5 separate regions of the Homo sapiens genome follow, and regions 2, 3, 4 and 5 are each linked to region 1. Evidence: promoter capture Hi-C in 16 types of primary human blood cells and fetal thymus (Javierre and others, 2016). All regions are on one chromosome and are shown on one strand. Each heading gives the region's core, a stretch centred on a gene start or on the middle of the fragment in contact. The rest is flanking DNA. Distances are from core to core; before and after follow the strand shown. Region 1 has its middle 51 kb from the start of LINC02890. Region 2 holds the start of ACSM1 (acyl-CoA synthetase medium chain family member 1). Region 3 holds the start of ANKS4B (ankyrin repeat and sterile alpha motif domain containing 4B). Region 4 holds the start of ZP2 (zona pellucida glycoprotein 2). Region 5 holds the start of DCUN1D3 (defective in cullin neddylation 1 domain containing 3).

Region 1 (2,700 bases), core at 163-2,662:
CTAAAACTCATCGAACTGTACATTTTAAACGGGTGAATTTTAATGTATGTAAATTATACCTCAATAAAGCTGTTAAAAAATAAATAATAAACCATGAAAAAATAAGCAAGAGAAAAGAGGAAACCATGATGCTGTTAGATTGGGGATTATATGGTTTGGATATTTGTCCCCTCCAAGTCTCATGTTGAAATGTGATCCCCAGTGTTGGAGTGGGACCTGGTGCGATGTGTTTGGGTCATGGGGGTGGATCCCTGATGAATGGCTTGGTGCCCGCCTTGCAGTAATAAGTGAGTTCTTGCTCTTAGTTCACATGAGATCTGGTTGTTTAAAAGAGTCTGGCACCTCCCCCTCTCTCTCTTGCTCCCTCTCTTGCCATGTGACACATGGGCTCCCCCTTCGCCTTTCGCCATGATTGGAAGCTTCCTGAGCTCCAAGACAGCACCATGCTTCCTGTACAGCCTGCAAAACTGTGAGCCAAAATAAACCCCTTTTCCTTATAAATTACCCAGACCCCAGACTTAGGCATTTCTTTACAGCAATGCAAAGCAGACTAACACAGGGGGAAAGGATGCTGGACTGGGAGAGAAAAACACTCACATATATTACCCATTTTTACACATTAGGAAAATAAGAAACAATGACTTGCCCTATGTCACCCAGCTAGTAAGTGGGGGAGCCCAGATGCAAACTCCCAACTCTTTGGCCCCAAACGCATGCTCTTAACCCCTCCGCCATGTGATCTTTCTTCCCTTTTGCACAGCCTCTCACCAGTCAGCCCCACTGTATGTAGGGAGACCATGAGGGACTCTTCTCACATTGCTACGTGAGCAGAATCCTCATCTGTCTGACATCTGCTGAAAACACAAGCAAAAGACACTCTGAGGCCTGATGTCTTCCGACGGTTCATTGAAGTTGCAGTTGTTACTTTCCCTTGAACTGTGCAAACGCTTGGTGTGCTCGGGTTGATTTGGTGCTTTTTGTATATTGCTCATCTGGCAGAGAATTACTACTCTGCTCTACAAGTTCCCACAGATGGCTTTATTTTCCATTGCTATTAAATTGGTTTTGAACAAGACATAATTCTTCAAGTGCCTGGTGTGCTCTCTGGGTTTGCTCAGGCAAGATTCCATAAAAATGTAAATAATCGGAACACTTCTGGGATTATTTATCACAACTGACTTGTGGCTGTAAATTTATGTATTAATTTCAGCTATAAGCTTCAGTGGGGAAAAGATGAACCATTGAAAATAGTCTCTTCCACCCTAACATCCTCGCTATGTCCCCATTTCCCCTCTGCTTCCAGGGAACGTACCAGAGAATGGCTCACACATCTGGGTCTGAACGACATTGAACAGGCTCGAAAAGGAACCAGGTGGTAAGTGGGGAATAATCACTCCTCAGCAACCCACAGGCTCATCACTTACTGCTCTCCCCTGGGTCTTCGGACCCCAGTCACACCAGCCTTTCACTTGCTCCTGTGGATTCCTGCCCCAGGACCCTTGCACATGCACCCCAGGCTTGTAATGCTCCTTCTTCCCTTTTATGCCTGGTTCACTCTTACTCATCCTTCAGCTCTTGGCTCAGCGTCACTTGTTTGGAGAAGCTTCATCCCCGCCCACCTGCTAGACGAGGTCTCCTCCCAGGTGTTCTTCTCATCCACAGCGCTACTCACAATCACAGTTCCTCATTTTGGGAGGATTTTTAAAACTTAATGTCTGTCTCCCCTACTTGGCTGTAAAAATTTCATGAGGGTTAGGGCTGTGTCTTTGTCGCCTGCATGCCCAGAGCCTGGCACAGAGTTGAAGATGGATGAATGTGTGCAGAACAAACTAATGGATCCACTTGGAATAAGAGCACATAGCAGGGCTCTTGGGGCCTCTGCCCACACGCACTCAGACCACGCTCTGCACACAGCTCCTTGTGTGCTTTCTCTTAGCCAGCACCTGCATGTTGGCAGAGGGCTGCTCTCACTTTGCCTGTGTGTGCTGAGACTGGAGTGCCTGGGAATTTGCACTCCCCTTGGAGGCCAGCCCTTAACCAATTAGTGGTGAAGGCAGGCTTAGAAGCATGCCAGCTGGCCGGGTGGAATGGCTCATGCCTGTAATCTCAACACTTTGGGAGGCCAAGGCAGGAGGATCACTTGAGGCCAGGAGTTCAAATCCAGCCTGGGCAACACAGCAAGACCCTATCTCTACAAAAAAAAAAAATTAAAAATAGCCGGACATGGTGGTGAGTGCCTATAGTCCCAGCTATTTGGGAGGCTGAGGCAAGAGAATTGCTTGAGCTCAGGAGTTTGAGGCTGCAGTGACCTATGATCGCACCATTGCAGTCCAACCTTGGTGACAGAGCAAGCCCCTGTCTCTGAAACATCACGCCAGCTCTCTTGTCTTGATCGGAAAACTGCAAGGAGCAGCCTGAACTCTCCCTGGAGCTGTCCTGGGGACTGAGCCACAGCAGTCCTCCTGTAGGACCTTGCTTGATCCAACACCCTTCTTGGCTTCTTCTCTTCTCCATTCTATTTTCCCACTCCCCTACTAGTGTTTCTGAGAACCCCTCATAATAAATCACTTTTACACAAATCCTCGTCTCAGCGTCTGCTTCCAGGGAGCCCAACCTAAAACAGAGAGTCTTCTGCCTGCAAATATTCTCACTGAGCTGTGATTAAGATCATACATTTTAGAGCATGCAAGCACTCTAACC
Region 2 (2,897 bases), core at 254-2,753, 2.0 Mb after region 1:
GTCACATAATCCTTTCAATGATCCCATGCAACAAATCTTATTAACAAATCCTGCTTCATTTTACAAATGTCAAGACCAAGCTTTGAAAGGAAAATGGTTCACCCAAGAGCTTTCTTGTGAGTGCCTGAGGTTGGACTTAATTAAGCTCAAGACTTTGGGATTCCAAAGACCCTGCATTTTACCAGGATACCAAATTGTTCCTCTGAGAATCCCAAGTGAATAAAAAGAGCCAACATCGACTATGCCCAGCACCGTGTGCTACATGCTTTTTATAAATTATTTCATCTAGTTCTAACAAACAAATGAAGAAGCAAAGAAAACACCCTGGGAGGTAGGTATTGTTGTTATCATTCCTATTTTACAAATAAGGTAGGTGTTGGGTGCTGTGGCTCATGCCTGTAATCCCAGCACTTTAGGAGGCTGAGGCGGGCAGATCACCTGAGGTCAAGAGCTCAAGACCACCCTGGCCAACATGATGAAACCCTGTCTCTATTAAAAATACAAAAATTAACTGGGTGTGGTGGCGGGCACCTATAATCCCAGCTACTTGGGAGGCTGAGGCAAGAGACTCAATTAAACCTGGGAGGCGGAGGTTGCAGTGAGCCAAGACCATGCCATTGCATTCCAGCCTGGGTGACAGCATGAGATTCTGTCTCAAAAGCAACCGAAAACCAATTAAGGGAGGTGAGGCCCAGAGCAAGAAGGTCCACAAAGATGACATGGAGGTTAAGTGGCAGACCTAAGGCTCAAACTCAGACCTTTCTGCCTCCAGACCTCCAGAGCCCAGGCTCTTATCCATTAGGCTACACTGACTCTCAGCTGTCATTTAAGGGAGACTATGGTGATGTAGGGCTGGGAAGGGGGAGCAGGTTAGCCACAGAGAACTAGTGAAAATGCACCATTGGATCTAGTTCATTCACACCCCTAGCCATGCCACCGGAATTGGAGGTGACTTCGTATACGTGGTTTGTTTTTCTTTTTTTTTTTTTTTTTGAGACAGAGTCTCTGTCTCCCAGGCTGGAGTGCAGTGGCATGATCTCGGCTCACTGCAAGCTCCGCCTCCCGTGTTCACGCCATTCTCCTGCCTCAGCCTCCCGAGTAGCTGGGACTACAGGCGCCCACCACCACACCCGGCTAATTTTTTGTATTTTTAGTAGAGACGGGGTTTCACCGTGTTAGCCAGGATGGTCTCCATCTCCTGACCTCGTGATCCGCCCGCCTCGGCCTCCCAATGTGCTGGGATTACAGGCGCGAGCCACTGCGCCCGGCCCACATGGTTTGTTTTCTAAGTGATTATCTCTCCGTGGAGGCCTGTAATTGTTTCTGTCCTATTTTACCTGAGCATCTCCTCCCCCTACTGAATTACCCAATTCCTAACAAGTTCTCTGTTCAAGGTCCCCCTTCGCTGTGGCCAGAAGCCAAGTTCTGCTGGGTGCACAATCCTGCGGATCACCTGATCAGAGAGAACTGAACCTACAAAAGAGAGCTCAACCTCCTTTTCCATACCTACCAGGGACCTAGTTCAGCTACGTCCTAAACAGTACCAGGTAAGACAGAGGTGAAGGTCAGCTTCTATCTGTGTGTGTGTGTGTGTGTGTGTGTGTGTGTGTGTGTGTGTGTGTGTGTAATCCAATTTTAAGTTCTGGCAATGCTACTTTTAAGTTGAGTGACCTTGGGCAAGTCACTTAACTTCTTGGCACTTCATTTTAGAGGCAAAATGACAATGGTGATATTGGGTGAGAGGAATAAATAGGAACGTACATGTAATATGTTTAGCACAGTGGCTGGCATGTAAATGGGGACTGGTTTAGTGTCAGGCAGCTCTGAATGTGGTGAGCCGTGGGAGACAGGCACAAAGTCAGAGATGAATGTTTGAAGGAAATCTTTTCTATCTATGCAGAAGTTGGCTCACTTTCTATAAAGTGAATGCCTTCTAAAAAAAATTATCCAAGCATAGTAATACATGCCTGTGGTCCCAGGTACTTGAAAGGCTGAGGCAGGAGGATGACTGTAGCCCAGGAGATTGAGGCTGCAGTGAGCTATGATCACACCACTGCACTCCAGTCCAGGTGACAGTTTCAAAAAAAATGGTTAACATCTAATGGGGAGGGGGTTGGCTTCAGAATTTGCTGGGAGTTAAAAGGTACCTCAACATTTATTGAGTCCTTACCGTGCACTTCATTCAGTGCCAGCAAGTAAATTATCACACTAATCCTTATGGGGAGCTGGGAAGAAGGTATTACTACTGTGCGCTTAAGTTCAGAGACATGAACAGCACCAAAGACCCAGCTGCTAGACAACAGAGACAAACATCTAGCCCTGGCTCTGTAACTCTGGGATACCCTATAACACAGTAAGTATGTTGCTTCATTAAATAGCTTTATCAGTCCCAAGTCCTGTGAAGTCAAAGCTTAGTTGCAGGAGCTGTTCAAGGCACTATGTATCTGGGAATACAGTGGGGAGCCCAGCTGCCTCTCAAAGCTACCATGTCAAATTGCTTTCAGAATGCACTTTAAGCAGTTCAGAAAATTGTTCTTTAAAATGATTTCATAGGATGTGCTTTAATGATATGCTCTAACAGGGTAGGAACTCTTTCAGTTTAATTAATCTCCAATAGTATCTAAAACTGTACATGGTACATCTATAGTAAATACTTGAGAAAGAAAAAATACATTTTTCTATAACTCAGATAATTTGTGGGCACACTGGCTTTTCTCTTTCTGACTTTCATCACTCAGTTTTCTGAATTATGACAAAGAAGGGAAGAATCTAACTTTTTGTTGAGCACTTACTATGTCCAGCACGGTGAGAAATAGACAAACTAAGCTTTGTGAAGTCAAATCTGAAGACAGATGTGGATGGAAATAGATATCGAAACAGAGACAGAGACGGAGATA
Region 3 (2,890 bases), core at 77-2,576, 1.4 Mb after region 1:
AGTACAAAAATTGCTGGGCATGGTGGTGCACACCTCTTGTCCCAGCTACTCGGGAGGCTCAGATGGGAGGACCACTTGAGCCTGGGGCTCAAGGCTGCAGTCAGCTATGATCTTGACACTGCACTCCAGCCTGAGTGACAGAGTGAGACCCTGTCTCAGAGCAAACATGCACACACACACACACACAAATATCATAGATGTCTTGTCTTCCCCTCTCAAATCTGCTCACTATGACAGGGACTGTGGCTGTCTTGTTGATCACAGTGTGCCCAGTGGCTAGCAAAATATCTCTTATCTTAAGAGATAAGTGGCTGGCACATAACAAATACTGAATAAATGGGTATTCAATTGGATTCACTTGGCTCCTTTATTTACCTTGTCCTTTTCTCTTTCTTTACCCCTCTTGGGTTACGGTTGCCAACACAACCTAGCCCTCTGATAACAGGCAGAACAAGCAGAGGAACTAGCTTACTCCTCCATTAAAATCTGGGCAAAGAGATGGGGTGTGTGTGTGTGTGTGTGTGTGTGTGTGTGTGTGTGTATCTATCCACTAGCCAAAGAAGTGATAGAGTTAAGATAGGCTAAAGAGTCCTTGTAGAGCCAGCAACTCCATTCAAAAGAGCAAGACCCTGTGTCAAAAATAAAAAATAAAAAAATCATGAGCTTGCACTGGGATTGAAAGTTAATAAAAGACTGTGAGATTTTGATGGCATAGATAAAAAAAAAACTAAAACCATGTCATTTGTTCCAACCAAGGTTGGCAACTTAAAACCAAGTAAAACAATGGCCTCTTTGAAAAGAGAAAACTATTTAAATTTCATGAAAAGCATTTTTAAAGGCATAGAATTAAAATATCTTCCCTCTTCCCCATGCAGATAATGCCGTAGTTCAGGGTCTCTCCTCTGATTGTGGCTAAGGGATGAGCCACTCCTATAGTGCCAGTCCTCAGTGAGAAAAGAGAGCATCTCTAGGCATAGTTTTCTCTCTTTCTCTAAAAATCCAATCATTTAGACAATCTAGAAAGAGGATAAAGTATTTGTATTGACGTCCCTGCCTCTTGCTGCTGTCTGCAAAAACCTACCATGAACACTGTTTCCAACAGAAACCATCGGGTTGAACTTACCCTCTACTGCAGATTATCTCTAGGGCTTCCAAGTTCCCATGGTAGGCTGCCAAGAGAGTAGGAGTCATGCCGTCTTCATCCGAAAGATTTAGATCTCGCTTGGTAGCCTCTTTTAGAAGTTCCAGGTAACTATCACTAGCAGCTTGGTGGTAACGAGTAGACATTTTTCCTGCTCACCAGAACTTGGCCAGATGTCTCTCCAGGCAGAGCAAGGTGTTGGCGGAGCAACCTTCCTATAGAGCTGGTTAATTAGTGACAAGGAAGAGTGTCACCAGGGGCAAAGCTCATTTCAACTGCTTCCTTTCACGGAAGGCAACAAGGTTCGAGGCACTGAACTTGGACCTTTTCTCTCTGGAATGGCCATGACGTTGACTATTGAAGACTGCTGTATTCATCTTGAGTGTTTGGAGGTACATTCAATTTTTCTATGTCCATTAGTTTCTTGAGTGTAATATTGGCCATCTAGGCACAGGATGTAAGAAATAATTTCTTAATAAAATGCAGAGCTACTCTAGTTCACTAGCTGTTTTTTCCAAAAAGAACAGCTTTATTGAGGTATAACATCATTAAATTTACCCATTTCATGCATACAATTCAATGATTTTTAGGACATTTATAGAGTTGCATGCCCATTATCATAATCCAGTTTCCATCAGCCCTTAAAGATCCCTCATGCCATTTGCTGTCAATCCCATTTCCACTCCCAACCTCAGGAAACCACAGTCTGCTTTCTGTCTCTATAGATTTGTTTTTTACGGGCATTTCAGACAAATGGAATCCTACAATATATAGTCTTTAGTGTATAGCTTGTTTCAATTCACATACTTTTTTGAGGTTTGTCATGTGTAGCATGTAATGGTTTCTTTCTTTTCACTGCTGAATAATATTCCACTGTGCTAACATACCACATGTTCTTCATCCATTCAATGTTTCATGAATATGATGAATATTTGGGTTGTTTCCATTTTTCAGTAATGATGAATAATGCTGCTATGAGCACTGATGTACAAGTCTCTGTGTGGACACATATTTTCATGTGTCTTGCGTATATATCAAGGAGTGAAACTGCTGGGTTGCATGGCAATTTACATTTAAATTTCAGAAGTTGCCAGACTGTTTTCCAAAGTGGCTGTACTACTTCACATTTCCACCAATAACGTATGAGGGTTTCAATTTCTCCACAACCTTGCCAGCCTTATTATTGCCTATCTTTTTGTTTATGGTCATCCTAGTGGATATGAAGTGGTCTTATTATGGCTTTAATTTTCAATTTCCTAATGACTAAGATATTGAGCATCTTTTCATGTGCCCATTAGCCATTCTTACATCTTCTATTCAAATCTTTTTGCCCAATTTTTAAGTGGTTGTCTTATTAATAAATTATAAGAATTATTTATATACTCTGGATACAAGTCCTATATCAGACATATTTGGAACAGAATGAAAATGAAAATACCACATATCAAGATTTATAGGATGCAGTTAAAGAAAAGCTTAGGGCAAAATTTGTAGTTTTTTATGCATATATGAGAAAGAAAAAAGATCTCAAATCAATAACTTAAACATATTATCAATAACTCAAGGGAAGGAGAAAAAGTATAGAAAAATGACTATAAGGAGTACAATATAAGACCAAAAAATTTCCAGATCTGTAATAAAAACAAAAGAAAATGGACTAAATTTATGATGTGGAAGACTCAGCCATGTCTTGTTTATAATAGACATATCTAAAATATAAAATTGCAGAAAGATTGAAAGCAAAAAATG
Region 4 (2,700 bases), core at 31-2,530, 1.5 Mb after region 1:
CTCCACCTGGTCCCTGACATTGTTGGGGCAAGTTGCCTTGCCTCAGTTTCCCCACTGGGAAACTTCCAAGTGCTTTACAACAATATAACATTCTTATTAGATCACTACTCCCTTTTACCCAGAAGTTTTACTTTGAGGAATTTATCTTGAGGGTTACCCAAGGATATGTATCAGAATGCTCATCATGTTACTGCTTATAATGATGAAAAATTACAAGCCACCTTATGCTCATAATTAAGGAAATTATATAAACACAGATTTATCTCAAATTGAATATTATGCCACCCTAAAATGGTAACAGAGAGCTTTATGTTTAATAGTTATAAAGTGACAGTAGCAGATTACAAAACAGTATTTAAACTTTCCTCCCAGTGTTTTAAAAAAATTGTGTGTGGTGTTTGTAGAAACATGTCTAAAGTTACTCACCTAAATATTAGCAGTGGCACTATTATGAGTGACTTTTGCCTTTTCTCTGTATCCTTCTGAAATTGTATCTTTGCGGTAAGCTTAAGCTTTTACACTTGGGGGTCAACAAGGCTTCATTCATTTTTTTAAAGACACTTCCTGTGCATTATCAGGGTAACTTCTGCAGTAGCCAGAAGACTAGATGTTACTTAAAAGGTTTTAGGGTAGGTGCAATGGCTCACGCCTGTAATCCCAGCACTTTGGGAGGCCGAGGCACGTGGATCACCTAGGTCAGGAGTTCGAGACCACCCTGACCAACACGGTGAAACCCAATCTTTACTCAAAATACAAAAATTAGCCAGGTGTGGTGGCGTGCACCTGTAATCCCAGCTACTCAGGAGGCTGAGGCAGGAGAATTGCTTGAACCCAGGAGGCAGAGGTTGCAGTGAGCCGAGATTGCACCAGTGCACTCCAGCCTGGGTGACAGAGTGAAACTGAATCTCAAAAAAAAAAAAAAAATGTAGTGGTGTGAACAAGACTTGTTTTTTTCTCAATAAAGCCCATGATTCTCTTTGGCTCTACATTGCAGTTGTAAATAATTTGCCCAAAAGATCCTAATTTCCCCCATAGTTATAGGGAAAACACCAATTCACTCACCTGGAGCTGATTTCAGCAAACTCTGATTTCATGCCTGGCCCACAGGGCAGCTGGCAGAATACCCGGCGCAAGCTGTCAGGAATCAGAGGCCACTTCCTTCCCCAATCCTTCCGTTTCAGCTGGGAGAATGGGACAAGATTCAGGTGCCCCCAATGGGGAGAGGGTGTGGATGCGGCTGGCTTCCTGCTATAAAAACACAGAGCAGCCTACCCTCTACCTGGTTGATCTGGTAGTGTCTTCTGCTATGGCGTGCAGGCAGAGAGGAGGCTCTTGGAGTCCCTCAGGCTGGTTCAATGCAGGCTGGAGGTGAGTAATTCTGGAAGTGGAGGGAGGGGGTATGGTAGCTTTGTTTGTTAAAGTCCATTCTTCCTTGACTATCTCCCTGTCTCTTTCCAGCACCTACAGGTCGATTTCTCTCTTCTTCGCCCTTGTGACTTCAGGGAACTCCATAGATGTTTCTCAGTTGGTAAATCCTGCCTTTCCAGGTATGTCTCTTGGGTGACAGAAGTCTTCTTAGCAGAGAAAACAGGTTGCAGCTGGAAGGCCTAGCTGGCCAAGAAACACAGGCCTGGCTCAGACAACCTCCATTCACCCCCTTTATTACCTTGGTCAGGTTACTGGATCTTTCTTCTGCTAACCTGTAGACTCACTATACCTGCTAAATGAAAACTCAAACACTTGCACTGCCTTCCAATCCCTCACTGCCTCAAGCTTTATGGTATCCACAGAACAGCAAACCACCACACTAAGCCCTCATCTTTAGGAGCAGCAATCTTCAAACACAAACTCATGCTTAAGGAAAACATCGACATAACAAGCAAAACTGGAGCTGCTCACTTGACGTTCACCTGAGCCAGAGGCTGCAGAGTAGCAGATGATGGGCAAAACTTGATCTTTAAAAAAAAAAAAAAAAATGCAGCCAGGCGCCGGGGCTCACGCCTGTAATCCCAGAACTTTGGGAAGCCAAGGCGGGCAGATCACCTGAGCTCAGGAGTTTGAGACCAGCCTGGCCAATGTGGTGAAACCCCATCTCTACCAAAAATACAAAAACTAGCTGGGTGTGGTGGTGGGCACATGTAATCCCAGCTACTTGGGAGGCTGAGGCAGGAGAATCGCTTGAACCTGGGAGGCGGAGGTTGAGGTGGGTTGAGATCGTGCCACTGCACTCCAGCCTGGGTGACAGAGAGACTCCGTCTCAAAATAAATAAATAAATAAATAAAAGTCCTGGGACTTACCCAGGACTTTGTTTAACATCAATTTGCAAAACCTGTTGACAAAGCTTTTGTCAGTTTTTCGGGCCTGCCTCCATCTGCTCCACTGTCAAGGTGTTGACCTGGCTCCTACAGACCTGCTTGTCAACCCTAACCTGGGCTTCTTACTGGAACACTTCAAAAGCCCTGGGTACCTGATATTTTCCTTACAGTTCTTGGCATATTGTATTGTTGTCTTGGTCACTTGTTTGTGAGCTCTCCCAGGGTAGGGGACGATTCTTGCCTCCCTCATCTGGAATCCCTCCCATCTGAGAGGAGTCTATACACTTTTGTAGGAGTTGCATCACTCATGACTCAAAGCCCCCAAATGCTTCCTTTGCTCCTTAGGCACTGTCACTTGCGATGAAAGGGAAATAACAGTGGAGT
Region 5 (2,700 bases), core at 49-2,548, 1.8 Mb after region 1:
AAGGCGCTGCTACAGTCATGCCACTTCCCCAACTACATCACAGGGCACTCCGGCCCTGGCTCTGTTTGCTTCAGCCACATGGCCTTCTGGCTGTTTCCAACCTAAAAGTCCTTCTCATTGGCTCTTCTCTCCACCCAGAAAACCCATTGTCTCGGATCCCCGCAAAACCGTGGCCTCCTTTGAACGACCTTACCCGATTTCGAGGGGCCCTCCCCCCATCTTCTGTCACCTCATCCGGTCTTTGGGGGGCATTTCTCACTTGCTGATACCTTCTTTATTGATTTACTTAACTCTCTCCTGCACACGAATGGAAGGTAACGGAGCAACACCCTACTCTCAGGTTTGAAGAGCAAGAGAATTACGAAGCTGGCTCTCACGGTCCTAGGGAGTCTCCGTTCCTGTACGGGACCTGGTGTGGGTCAACGTTCCCCAGCCAGACACCTCTCGCCCCCGGACCGGCCCCTACCATCTCCCATTTACATTCGGGGGTCCAAAAGATTCACAGCCTCCGAGGGGGCCCCACGCCGGCACCTGAGCGTCCCCACACCAGGCCTCCCCTCTTGGACGCGCGAGCCACTTCCGTGAGGCAGGTCCCCGAGGCCGGTGGCGATGACACCGAGCCGCCCCCGCGAAGCTGGGGTCACACAGGCCCGTCTCCCGGCAACGCCGCAGCCCAACCTCCAAACCATCCCTGCCCGTGGGGAGCCAACCCCTTCCCCGCCAGTCTCCCGCGCCTGGAGTCGGCGCCTCCATCCCCTACACTCACTCTGCGTCAGTCCTGCCTTCCCCCACCCACAGAAGCGCGCAGCCCGCGGCGGGCTGGGAGGAGGCGGCGCCAGGAGCCCAGCAGAGCCGTGGCCGACCGAGCACAGGCTGGTCCAGTAGGCCAGGCCGGACCAAACCACCGGGCCCACCTCTGTGGGAGCACCAGTTCCAGGTCTGGGGGAGTCTCGACTGACTGACTCTACCCATCTCCCGCCGCATCCAACAATAAGCTGAGCTCCTCCTCCCCCTATTTTTCCTTTACGCTTTCATTATCCTCCCCGCTCCATTCCCGTAAAACAAGAAAAAAAAATGGTCCAGCCCAGCTCCCTCCGGGTTGCTAGGTCTTTGCCCTTACTTGGCGACGGCTTCGTACGTCTTTATGTGCGTCGTGACGCAATCTTCCACTCGTTCCCTCCTTGCCCCTCTCCCATTCTCCCTCCTGGAGCTGGCGGCCGGCGGGGTTACCGGAAGTGATGATGCAGGAGGCGATGGAGGGGGCGGGGCTTCGGGGCGGCCGCCGCCGGTGGGCCGCAGATGAAGAGGAGGCGGTGGCAGTGGTGGAAGAAGAGGCGGCGGCGGCGGGGGTAGGGAGCCTGGAAACGCGAGCGGGGATGGTAGGTGGTTTGGACCCGCCGGGCCGCCGTCGTTTCCAGAAAGGGTTTGACTGGAGGAACCTCTGGAGCAGCTGTGAGTTTTGGGGAGGGGGGGAGTTGAGGAAAAGGCGGGGGGGCATTGAGAGATGAAGGGGCGGGGGTTGGGTACCTTCGAGAAAGGGGGGTGGAAAGGGAGGAGTGGAAGTCAGCGCGTTGTCTGGAGTGGTACCTCTGAAAGAAGAGGCTGTGAGGGGAGCCTGTGGCGTGTCAGCCGCAGGGCTCAGAAAACTTACCTACTGTCCCTGCCTCCCCACCGCCAGCACCCCTCAACCCAGGGCCTGGGGATATGGGGTTGGAGCTGCCCTGGAGGGGGTGCAGACTCTGGTCCTCTGTCCTGGGTGAGCGCTGTGAGGTAGGAGCCCTAGGGGGAGGTGGTGGGTGAATCTCCCAGCTCCCTCCGCCCTCATTTCCCTCCCCACCCCCATCGTTCTCTTTAATCATTAACAGCCCTGGAATTAAGGGGCTCAGACCTGAAGGCCTTTTTGTGCACCTTTGCTATAAACGATAACCATCTGTGTCCGAGGTAATGAGGCTGGAGGCTTTGCCTGTATCCTCTATAGGAAGTGGGACGGGGTGACAAATGTATTGTTTGTTCCTCCACCACACCCCCCGCACTTCTCACCCCTCATCCTCCCCCATGCACACCCCTGGTTTCCACTTTAATTCTCTGTGGCTGAGTGGCAATAGTGGATTTTTTTTTCTTCCCCTTTCCTCCTTTATGGCACTTAGTGCCTTGGTTACCTCTTTTGAATTTGGTGTTCAGCCTCTATCCCAGATCTTAACTGTAAGCTTTGTAATACTTCATACAGGCTGTCACGTTGGGAGTACCTCTTACGCTCCGATTATAATGAGCATTTTCTTTTATGAATACTGGAATTCCAGAGCCTTTGCAAGGAATCCTGAATGGCATCATAGCCCAGGAATCAAGGTCTCTTGCTCGAAATACTTTATGTGTGAGGAATTTACATGTTGTCAGCTCTTCCCAAAATGATTTGCTAGGCTAATTCTGGATTTCTGTGTTTCTCTCCACCCACTTTTCATGATGCACTTCAGAGAACAGAAAACCCCATATTACTTTTTTGTTTCTACAATTGGACAATAGCTCTTTTATGTTTTTCTCCATTTATGTGTGACACACAAATCATCAGTGACACGTTCAGCTTGTGCTGATTTTCATCTTTACGTAGCTGATTCTTTGTGTATGGGGGTCCTAAATGAGACAGTGTGATCTGTTTAGTTTTGGTTTAAGGGCGAATACAAACCAATAACGGATGTGAAAAAA

What was found. The method cuts DNA at HindIII sites, captures the fragments that hold promoters and counts their contacts. A CHiCAGO score of 5 or more calls a contact.
Region 2: the fragment with the promoter of ACSM1 here is called in contact with a fragment that was not itself captured in region 1 in 2 of 17 cell types (fetal thymus and total B cells); the score reaches 9.3 in fetal thymus.
Region 3: a contact is called between the fragment with the promoter of ANKS4B here and a fragment that was not itself captured in region 1, in 4 of 17 cell types (naive B cells, total CD4 T cells, fetal thymus and 1 more). The highest score is 9.7, in naive B cells.
Region 4: a contact is called between the fragment with the promoter of ZP2 here and a fragment that was not itself captured in region 1, in 9 of 17 cell types (naive CD8 T cells, total CD4 T cells, fetal thymus and 6 more). The highest score is 12.1, in naive CD8 T cells.
Region 5: the fragment with the promoter of DCUN1D3 here is called in contact with a fragment that was not itself captured in region 1 in 2 of 17 cell types (naive B cells and M1 macrophages); the score reaches 6.7 in naive B cells.

The regions. Positions count from the first base shown.
Region 1 is chr16:22,663,656-22,666,355 of GRCh38, reverse strand. No RefSeq gene overlaps it. Among named protein-coding and RNA genes, the nearest start is that of LINC02890, 51 kb to the right of the region's middle. RefSeq lists an enhancer at 1,519-1,678. The HindIII fragment of the contact is 386 bases long and covers 1,220-1,605 here.
Region 2 is chr16:20,696,286-20,699,182 of GRCh38, reverse strand. It overlaps ACSM1 (acyl-CoA synthetase medium chain family member 1), which reads left to right and starts at 1,503. Exons shown (of 14, transcript NM_001318890.3): 1 at 1,503-1,547. It also overlaps a transcript of ACSM3 not described here. The HindIII fragment of the contact is 2,330 bases long and covers 83-2,412 here.
Region 3 is chr16:21,232,135-21,235,024 of GRCh38, reverse strand. It overlaps ANKS4B (ankyrin repeat and sterile alpha motif domain containing 4B), which reads right to left and starts at 1,326. Exons shown (of 2, transcript NM_145865.3): 1 at 1,124-1,326. The coding sequence starts at 1,287. It overlaps LOC105371123 (a long non-coding RNA gene), which reads left to right and starts at 1,423. Exons shown (of 2, transcript XR_001752344.2): 1 at 1,423-1,533. The HindIII fragment of the contact is 3,732 bases long and covers 1-2,618 here.
Region 4 is chr16:21,210,154-21,212,853 of GRCh38, reverse strand. It overlaps ZP2 (zona pellucida glycoprotein 2), which reads left to right and starts at 1,280. Exons shown (of 19, transcript NM_001376232.1): 1 at 1,280-1,368; 2 at 1,459-1,547; 3 at 2,662-2,700. The coding sequence starts at 1,307. The HindIII fragment of the contact is 1,261 bases long and covers 515-1,775 here.
Region 5 is chr16:20,898,956-20,901,655 of GRCh38, reverse strand. It overlaps DCUN1D3 (defective in cullin neddylation 1 domain containing 3), which reads left to right and starts at 1,298. Exons shown (of 3, transcript NM_173475.4): 1 at 1,298-1,452. It overlaps LYRM1 (LYR motif containing 1), which reads right to left and starts at 885. Exons shown (of 4, transcript NM_001128302.3): 1 at 767-885. RefSeq lists enhancers at 1-693, 694-1,479, 1,689-1,738. The HindIII fragment of the contact is 5,697 bases long and covers 1-2,209 here.